Regions from separate parts of the Homo sapiens genome. Here all the other regions are linked to region 3. The links are contacts of gene promoters, found by promoter capture Hi-C in human tissues and cell types (Jung and others, 2019). All regions are on one chromosome and are shown on one strand. The core of a region is centred on a gene start or on the middle of the fragment in contact, and the rest is flanking DNA. Distances in the headings are between cores, read along the strand shown.

Evidence for each region. The method cuts DNA at HindIII sites, captures the fragments that hold promoters and counts their contacts. A contact is called where the count stands out against the background at its distance.
Region 1: a contact is called between a fragment that was not itself captured here and the fragment with the promoter of YLPM1 in region 3, in 2 of the 25 tissues and cell types used here (dorsolateral prefrontal cortex and lymphoblastoid cells).
Region 2: a fragment that was not itself captured here is called in contact with the fragment with the promoter of YLPM1 in region 3 in 1 of the 25 tissues and cell types used here (liver).

The regions. Positions count from the first base shown.
Region 1 is chr14:75,078,423-75,081,122 of GRCh38, reverse strand. It overlaps ZC2HC1C (zinc finger C2HC-type containing 1C), which reads right to left. Exons shown (of 3, transcript NM_024643.4): 3 at 1,135-2,700. It overlaps NEK9 (NIMA related kinase 9), which reads left to right. Exons shown (of 22, transcript NM_033116.6): 22 at 1-1,770. Among named protein-coding and RNA genes, the nearest start is that of ZC2HC1C, 10 kb to the right of the region's middle. The HindIII fragment of the contact is 7,451 bases long and covers 1-2,700 here.
Region 2 is chr14:74,282,633-74,285,332 of GRCh38, reverse strand. ABCD4 (ATP binding cassette subfamily D member 4) reads left to right here. Exons shown (of 19, transcript NM_005050.4): 19 at 1-64. Among named protein-coding and RNA genes, the nearest start is that of ABCD4, 19 kb to the left of the region's middle. The HindIII fragment of the contact is 3,233 bases long and covers 1-2,700 here.
Region 3 is chr14:74,762,009-74,764,708 of GRCh38, reverse strand. YLPM1 (YLP motif containing 1) reads right to left here and starts at 1,393. Exons shown (of 21, transcript NM_019589.3): 1 at 347-1,393. The coding sequence starts at 1,219. RefSeq lists an enhancer at 1,346-1,685. The HindIII fragment of the contact is 19,465 bases long and covers 1-2,700 here.

The sequences.
Region 1 (2,700 bases), core at 22-2,521, 320 kb before region 3:
AATACAAAAAAATTAGCTGGGTGTTGTGGCAGGTGCCTGTAGTCCCAGCTACTCTGGAGGCTGAGGCAGGAGAATGGCGTGAACCCAGGAGGCGGAGTTTGCAGTGAGCTGAGATTGCGCCACGGTACTCCAGCCTGGGCGACAGAGTGAGACTCCATCTCAAAAATAAAAAAAAAAATACTGTCTTGGCAGGACAGGCGCGGTGGCTCACGCCTGTAATCCCAGCACTTTGGGAGGCCGAGGTGGGCAGGTCAGGAGTTCAAGACCATCCTGGCTAACACAGTGAAACCCCATCTCTACTAAAAATACAAAAAATCAGCCGGGCGTGGTGGTGGGCGCCTGTAGTCCCAGCTACTCGGGAGGCTGGGGCAGAAGAATGGCGTGAACCCGGGAGGCGGAGCTTGCAGTGGGCCAAGATCACTCCACTGCACTCCAGCCTGGGTGACAAGAGCGAGACTCCGTCTCAAAAAAAAAAAAAAAGAAATACTGTCTCGGCACATCTGCATACATTTTTAATGAAATGAGTTTCCACATGAGGAGTTTCCCCGTGAAATTTCTCCTATGGTGTAACCTTATGAACTTTATAATGTTTACTTGCACTAAACATTTCTTGGATAAAGTTGTATAAAATACAGACATTAAGAAGCAGCATGCATTTACTGTCATCGTCTGAGCTATCCAGGAAGAAATTCAGATTTTTTTAAAAAAAGGTTCTTATCTCTTCCCAGAGACCAGATCAAGATAAATTTAAAAGATGAAAGATATTTCTTTTTTTTTTTTCTTTTTTTTTTTTTGAGATGGATTCTTACTAGGTCACCAGGCTGGAGTGCAGTGGCGCGATCTCAGCTCACTGCAACCTCTGCCTCCTGGGTTCAAGCAATTCTCCTGCCTCAGCCTCCCGAGTAGTTGGGACTACAGGTGTGCGCCACCACGCCCAGCTAATTTTTGTATTTTTAGTAGAGACGGGGTTTCACCATGTTGGCCAGGATGGTCTCGATCTCTTGACTTTGTGATCCGCCCACCTCGGCCTCCCAAAGTGCTGGGATTACAGGCATGAGCCACCATGCTCGGCCTTGAAAGATATTTCTAATATAACCAAGGCCTAAACATGTAGAGATTAAAGGGAACACTTAAGGCATTGACTATTGTTTTATTTCTTTAGCAAAATGAGAGCAAACAACTGCTTCCTTTTTAGAAAGCACTCCCCACATATAACAACAATTTGTTCTCTCTGGAGGGCCCGGATCTATGACCTTACTAACATCCAGCGATCCCAAATCCAAGTGCCTGTGGTACCAGGCAGATAAGGTAAAGAAGTGAAGCAGGCCAAGTGAGACTGCAGTGGTCTGGTGCTACCATTCCCATCTGGAGGAGCATCTGATTCTAAACCCCACCCAATTTGTGCCATGCGGGTTGCTGGCCCAGTGTTTCCAGAACTTCCAGTTTTTCAAGAGATGTTCCATATCCCAGTTTTTAAATGTCAGATCATATTATGAATGCTAGGCCAGCGAAATAAAACATCTGTGGAGCAAAGCAATCCACATGTTGCCATTTTGTGACCTTGGCCACAGCTTACTCTTGCCATCTATTGCAATGTACTGGTTTACATTCCCACTTAAAGTGTACATTTCATTGAACTTGCCTAGGGAATGTACCTATTAGGTTAAATATCCATTATCTCTGTGTGAGGTTTCCTTAAGGGGCTAACCATAAAGCTTTATTATGTGATACCTCCTTTCCTTTGGAACAATTAAAAAGAGTGCAAAGAAATGTGTGCTCCTATTTAAATATATAGGATTTTTTCCCAGCCTGTGTCCTGCAGCTTCACCGCTAAAGCCTTAACTCACATTTCAAATTGGTCTGATCTGTTAGCCCAATTTTTTTTTCTTTTTTTTTTTTTTTTTTTTGAGATGGAGTCTCACTAGGTCACCAGGCTGGAGTGCAGTGGAAATGGAGCAAGAGTGAGTGGCCATTTGTTACTTAGTAAAATAGGATTTTGTTGTCTGTCTAGCCCTGTTGACTAGCTCAAATTGAGCAGTTTTTCTCCAGTATTTTAAACTAACAATTTGAGTAATACAGAACAGTAATCCTAAGATTTCTATCTGTTGTGCTAACTTCACTCCTATCTGAACTGATAATACTCTCGCAGACATTAACTTATCAGTTCTCTGATTTCACTAGTGTAGGACTCACTCATCTTCTTGTTTAATTTTAAATCTCCAGACCTCACTAATTGAAGGTCTAACTTGTGCTAGGCAATATTCTACACAGAGAAAATTAAAAAGATTTGATCCCTTTCCCTTCAAAGTTTACTCTCTGAAATAGAAGTTGACTATGCTATAATTGCCAAGGGCATGTGACACTGTGCAGTGTCCCAGCTTTGTTTTGTTTTGAGATGGGGTCTTGCTTTGTTGTCGAGGCCGCTCTTGAACTCCTGGCCTCAAGCAATCCTCCCACTTCAGCCTCCCAAAGTGCTGGAATTATAGGAATGAGCCACCATGACCAGCCTGTCTCAGCTTGCTTTGATGGTAGATTTTGCTGCCTCTAAACAGTCATTTAGCCAAACCGATTTGAAAGTAGAGTGCTACTAACAGCTAAAATGGAGGTTTCTTTCTTAACATATGAAACCCATTAGAAAAGAACAAGTAGAGAGAAGTATAATGTGTTTCCCCCCCAACACCCATCCCTACCCTGTAAAGT
Region 2 (2,700 bases), core at 18-2,517, 480 kb after region 3:
TTAGACGGACTGGCACTCAACTGAGATTTTTCTCCTTAATAAAATCAGAAAGATGGAGTGAGAATTGTATTTTCTCACTGTAAAATATAAGATTATTTAACGCTTTCTTGGTACCACTTAAAAATGACTTACTCTATCCTTACTGACTTCTTCAGCTCCTAAGCCTTTTTCACAGACGCTGCTGCCGCTGCCAAGTTATTTTGTTTATTTTTATTTTTTATTATTTATTTTTGAGACAGTGTCTCACACCTCACTCTGTAGCCCAGGCTGTAATCTAGTGGCACAATCACAGCTTATTGCAGCCTTGACTTCCCGGGCTCAAGTGATCCTCCCACCACAGCCTCTCAAGTAGCTGGGACCACAGGCAGGAGCTCCTATGCCCAGCATCCAGATTATTTTGGAGACCAATTCATTCCTATCTCAGGGTCTTTGCATTTGCTGCTTCCTCTGCCTCTAACTGGTTTCCAGTGCTGTTCTGTTCTTAACACTTAGCCTTCTCCCTCACAGAAACTGCCCAAGAAAGCTACTCCTAGGGGCACACTCTGCACCTCTATCCCTCCCTCATGTCAGAGATGGAGACTACTCTTAGATGAGTCGACATAAACATGCGTGGAGGAAAATCAGGTCTTGTGTCCTTCATAGTACATTATGGACAAAATGTTTGTTTTAAATGCATCGTACATCAGCCAGGCAAATAGTTTCCCAAACTTAAGACCCATTTTGGCCACCCAGGAATCTACAGTGACCCATGTGGATGAGACATAAAGATAGCCATAGGTTTCCCATCACTCTTCTGGAGGGTTCTGGGCTGCAGGACAGGCAGAAAAGCCATCTTTTGTCATCTCTATCCACGTTGGCTTAACATGTCAATGTGTGTCTAGTAAAGGCAGCTCAAACCCAACATGTCCCAAACTGAACAAGAAGAGCTTTCCCTGGCCGGGCATAGTGGCTCATGCCTGTAATCCCAGCACTTTGGGAGGCTGAGGTGGGTGGATTGCAAGGTCAGGAGATCGAAACCATCCTGGCCAACATGGTGAAACCCCGTCTCTACTAAAAATAAAAAAATTAGCTGGGTGTGGTGGCACATGCCTGTAATCCCAGCTACTCGGGAGGCTGAGGCTGGAGAATCGCTTGAACCCAGGAGGCGGGGGTTGCAGTGAGCCGAGATCGTGCCACTGCACTCCAGCCTGGTGCCAAAGCAAGACTCTGTCTCAAAAAAAAAGAAAGCTTTCCCACTCACGCCTGTAATCCCAGCACTTTGGGAGGCCGAGGTGGGCAGATCACAAGGTCAGGAGTTCAGGACCAGCCTGGCCAATATGGTAAAACCCCATCTCTACTAAAAATACAAAAGTTAGCCGGGTGTGGTGGCAGGCGCCTGTAGTCCCAGCTACTCGGGAGGCTGAGGCAGGAGAATCATTTGAACCCAGGAGGCGGAGGTTGCAGTGAGCAGAGATTGTGCCACGGCACTCCAGCCTGGGCGACAGAGCGAGACTCCGTCTCAAAAAAAAGCTTTCCCCAGAGCCTTTTCTAGCATCTCCTCTGATGGCAAGTGGCGTTACTGTCCATCTAGCACATCACCAGGTGCTGTTGCTCTGACCCCATAAGTAAATCTTCCAGCCATTCACTTCTCTCACCTGCTTGAATCCTAGCTAGAAGCAGCTCAGAGGGAGCCAGAAAAATGAGAAAAACCACAAGGAGAATCGAGGAACAGGAGCCTGGACGGCAGCTGGACTCTGAAAAAAAGAAGTGTCAGGAGGCAGCCTGAGCCTGCCACGTAGGGGAATGTTAGTAACCAGTGGCACGGCATTCTGTGGGCTATGGGGCAGTTCTTGAAAGTGAGGGCACTTTGGTTTGCCGCACACCAGCCATGTCTGAGGCACCATTCTCAGTTCCAGGGTTACAGTGGGGAGCAAGATGGACCTGGCACCTCTGCTGGAGCTCGCGTGTTCCATGTGGTACATGGTGGGTCTGAAGGCAGAAAGCAGCAGGAAAACACTGGGCTCAACTACAAGTGGAAAACATTTACAAAATCGTATGTCTGTTGTGATACTGTAGCAGGTCTTCTTGAGCTGCCTCTAGAACTCGAGCATTCTAGCATTACCCAAAACATCAAGTCAAATACAAAACCATGGAAGACTATTACAGAATGTTACCAGATGGTTCGTGAGTGTGTAGGGAGTCCTATTTCCTGCTGCAAAGCAAACCATCTTTTTTTTTTTTTTTGAGACGGAGTTCACTCTTGTTGTCCAAACTGGAGTGCAATGGCGCAATCTCGGCTCACTGCAACCTCTGCCTCCCAGGTTCAAGCAATTCTCCCGCCTCAGCCTCCTTAGTAGCTGGGATTACAGGCATGTGCCACCATGCCCAGCTAATTTTTTTTTTTTTTTTGAGACGGAGTTGCTCTGTCCCACAGGCTGTAGTGCACTGGCGCAATCTCAGCTCACTGCCAGCTCTGCCTCCCGGGTTCACGCCATTCTTCTGCCTCAGCCTCCCAAGTAGCTGGGACTACAGGCGTCCACCACCACACCTGGCTAATTTTCTGTATTTTTAGTAGAGATGGGGTTTCACCGTGTTAGCCAGGATGGTCTCGATCTCCTGACCTCATGATTTGCCTGCCTCAGCCTCCCAAAGTGCTGGAATTACAGGCGTGAGCCACCACGCTTGGCCGTATTTTTTTTTTTAGTAGAGGCAGGGTTTCAC
Region 3 (2,700 bases), core at 144-2,643:
AAAATACAATTTTAAAACAAGACCCTCTGCAACAAAATCTATTTGCAACAGCAACAAAATCTAAGAGGATGGTCAAAGAAACCAAGGAATGTATCTGAGAGGTAACTTTTGAGCCACCCCACCACTGTATGTAATCCATACACATCTACAAACGCTGTTTTTTTGGTAATTCACATCTAGCTAATTAAAAAGCTGAGCTGTCAGCCCTCTGACTCTTACGGAATCCTTTGGAGTGTTAGCTAGTCATTGTGTGTTGGAATTAGACTAACCACTGGTTAAAGCCCTGAGGCCTGCTCATTCAGGGCCCTCTAGGTGAAAGATGAGGTTCAGGCAGATGCTTTCTTACCTGTGGAGTCATCGTAGAGGGATCTGGCTCAGGGGCGGCTTGCTGCTGTTCAGTACTCTTGTTTTTGGCCCCACTCTCCAAAGGCTCTTGCTGGACAGTTGTCTTATTTCCAGGGGGGGCGGACGGTGGTGGTGGAGCTAGTAGTTGGGATTTAGAATGGCCCTGGGAGGGGCGGGAAGGAGATGCCTGAGAAGAGGGCAAGTAGGACTGGGAATGGCTCAAATAGGATTGCGAGGAAGAGGAGGAGGATGAGTAAGAAGGGGTGGGCGCCAGGTAGGATTGGGAAGGTGGGGACTGCGAAGGGGACGGCTGAGCAGGAGGCAGGTAGGGCTGAGATGAGGTCGGGGGGTAGTAAGAGGGTGGCGGCTGAGGTGGGGGCATGTAAGACTGAGATGGGGGCATATAGGACCCAGGCGGCACAGGGGGAGATTCAGGGGGGGATTCCAGCTCCATTGGAACCAAACCAGGAGGCCCGTCTCGTTGGTGGTGGAGCATCTGGTGTTTGTACTGCTGCTGCTTCTGATAGCTGAGGGCCGGCCCGGGTGGCGGGGGCATCGGTGGCGGTGGCGGCTGCCAGTCTCCGTAGCCGCCCCCCGGCATCACTGGCGGGGGCGGCAGAGGGGGCGGAGGAAGGTGGTGGGGCTGAAGCACGCACTGCATTTGCTTCTGGTGCATCTGCTGCAGCTGCTGGAGCTGCGCCAAGTGCTGTTCGCGGAAGCTCATGAAGCCCGAGGAGGAGGGGGCCGCGGGAGTCGTCGAGCTCGAGTACCCGGGCCCCGGCGAGGCCTCAGGAAGCGCCACTGGCGGCGGCGGTGGGACCGGTGGCGGCGGATAGTGGCTGCTCCCGCCATACCGGCCCCAATTCGGGTACATATCGAAAAAGAAGGCGCAGGGCTCGTCCTGGCGCCGTTACTCGTCGCAACCGACCTCCAGGAGCCGCGGCGGCGACGGCGACAGCCGGAACTCGCGGCGCCTACAGGCCCCGGAGCGTGTAAACGGAGCGCGCCAGTGCGCCGGCGCTCCCGAGCTGGGCCCGCGACCGGGAAGGCGGGGACGCGACTTGGGCGACTACGTCTGCGCAGTAACCACCGAGAGGAGAACAAAGGCGAGATAGAGCGGTCCTTTACTTGGCGACTCGTGGTTGCCATCTTCCTTTGGGTTCAGATAATGTAGGCTCCAGTAGAATGTTCTCATAGAACTGAAAAACCATAGAGTCTCACAGCCGAAAGAGGTGGTAGAGATCCTATCGCTCCACGGGTTCATTTTTGAATGAAAAAAAAAAAAGGTTCCATTCACAATAGCAACAATCGCAACAACAACAAAAAAACATAAAGCAACTAGGAAAAACTCTAACAAGAAAGATGTAGGACTTATATGTAGAAAGCTACAGAGTCATAAAGAAGCATATCCAAGTAGGATGAAATTAGACTTCAAATAATGGAGAGGCTTACCATGATCCTGGGTGAAAAGAGGAAAAATTGTAAAGATGTCAGTTTCTCCCAAATTAAATGAATAGACCTAACTCAATTCTCCCCAGAAATTCAACTGGGAACAAAGCTGTGAAGAATGGAAAGGTGTTTTCAAGGCAGAGTGTAAGATTACACCAATTCCTGCAGACATATAGTGAGTAACATCTGCAGGAATTGTAGAAGGGGAGAAATGGAATTTTTTAGACTGTCTCAACACATATAAATCGGTGTTGCAGAATCTCAGAGCAAAAGCAAAGAGAGCAAAAACCAGATACAAAGATGGTCTAAAGACAACCTGGAAGATAATCTTCCAAAAGCTCTCAACGTAATACCAGACATAAACTCTTACTTTAGCTTGAGTGAATCACTAAAAAGCAAAGCTAATACACTGAATTCTTTTGGGTGTGTGGGGGGGGGCGGGGGGAGGGAGAACTGTGAGAATATTGTGTCAGTGCATCACTTGAGTAACATGCAAATAATTGACCTTTCTTCCATCTTAGCAACCCAGATCTTCACCTCTCTCAGGAGGTGAATGTGAATGGAAAGTGGAGCAGCAAGGCATCCTTCAAAAGGAAGAGCTTCTGTTTTCAAATAGAAATTTAGTTATGTTTCTTTTAACTTTTTATTGAAGTATAACGAATATACAGAAAATTACATGTCAAAAGACAAAATTACAACAAATTTAGTTTAAAGATCTTAATTAACTTTTACCTGCTATTCTAGAATTGGGCAACGTCTCATTCTATAAAGCAGAAACAGTGTTCCAATGAGCAGAACAATCGGGATAATTTCATAGACAGAAAAGAAACGCAGAGGCAGGGCGCGGGGGCTCACTCCTGTAATCCCAACACTTTTGGGAGGCTGAGGCAGGCAGATCACCAGGTC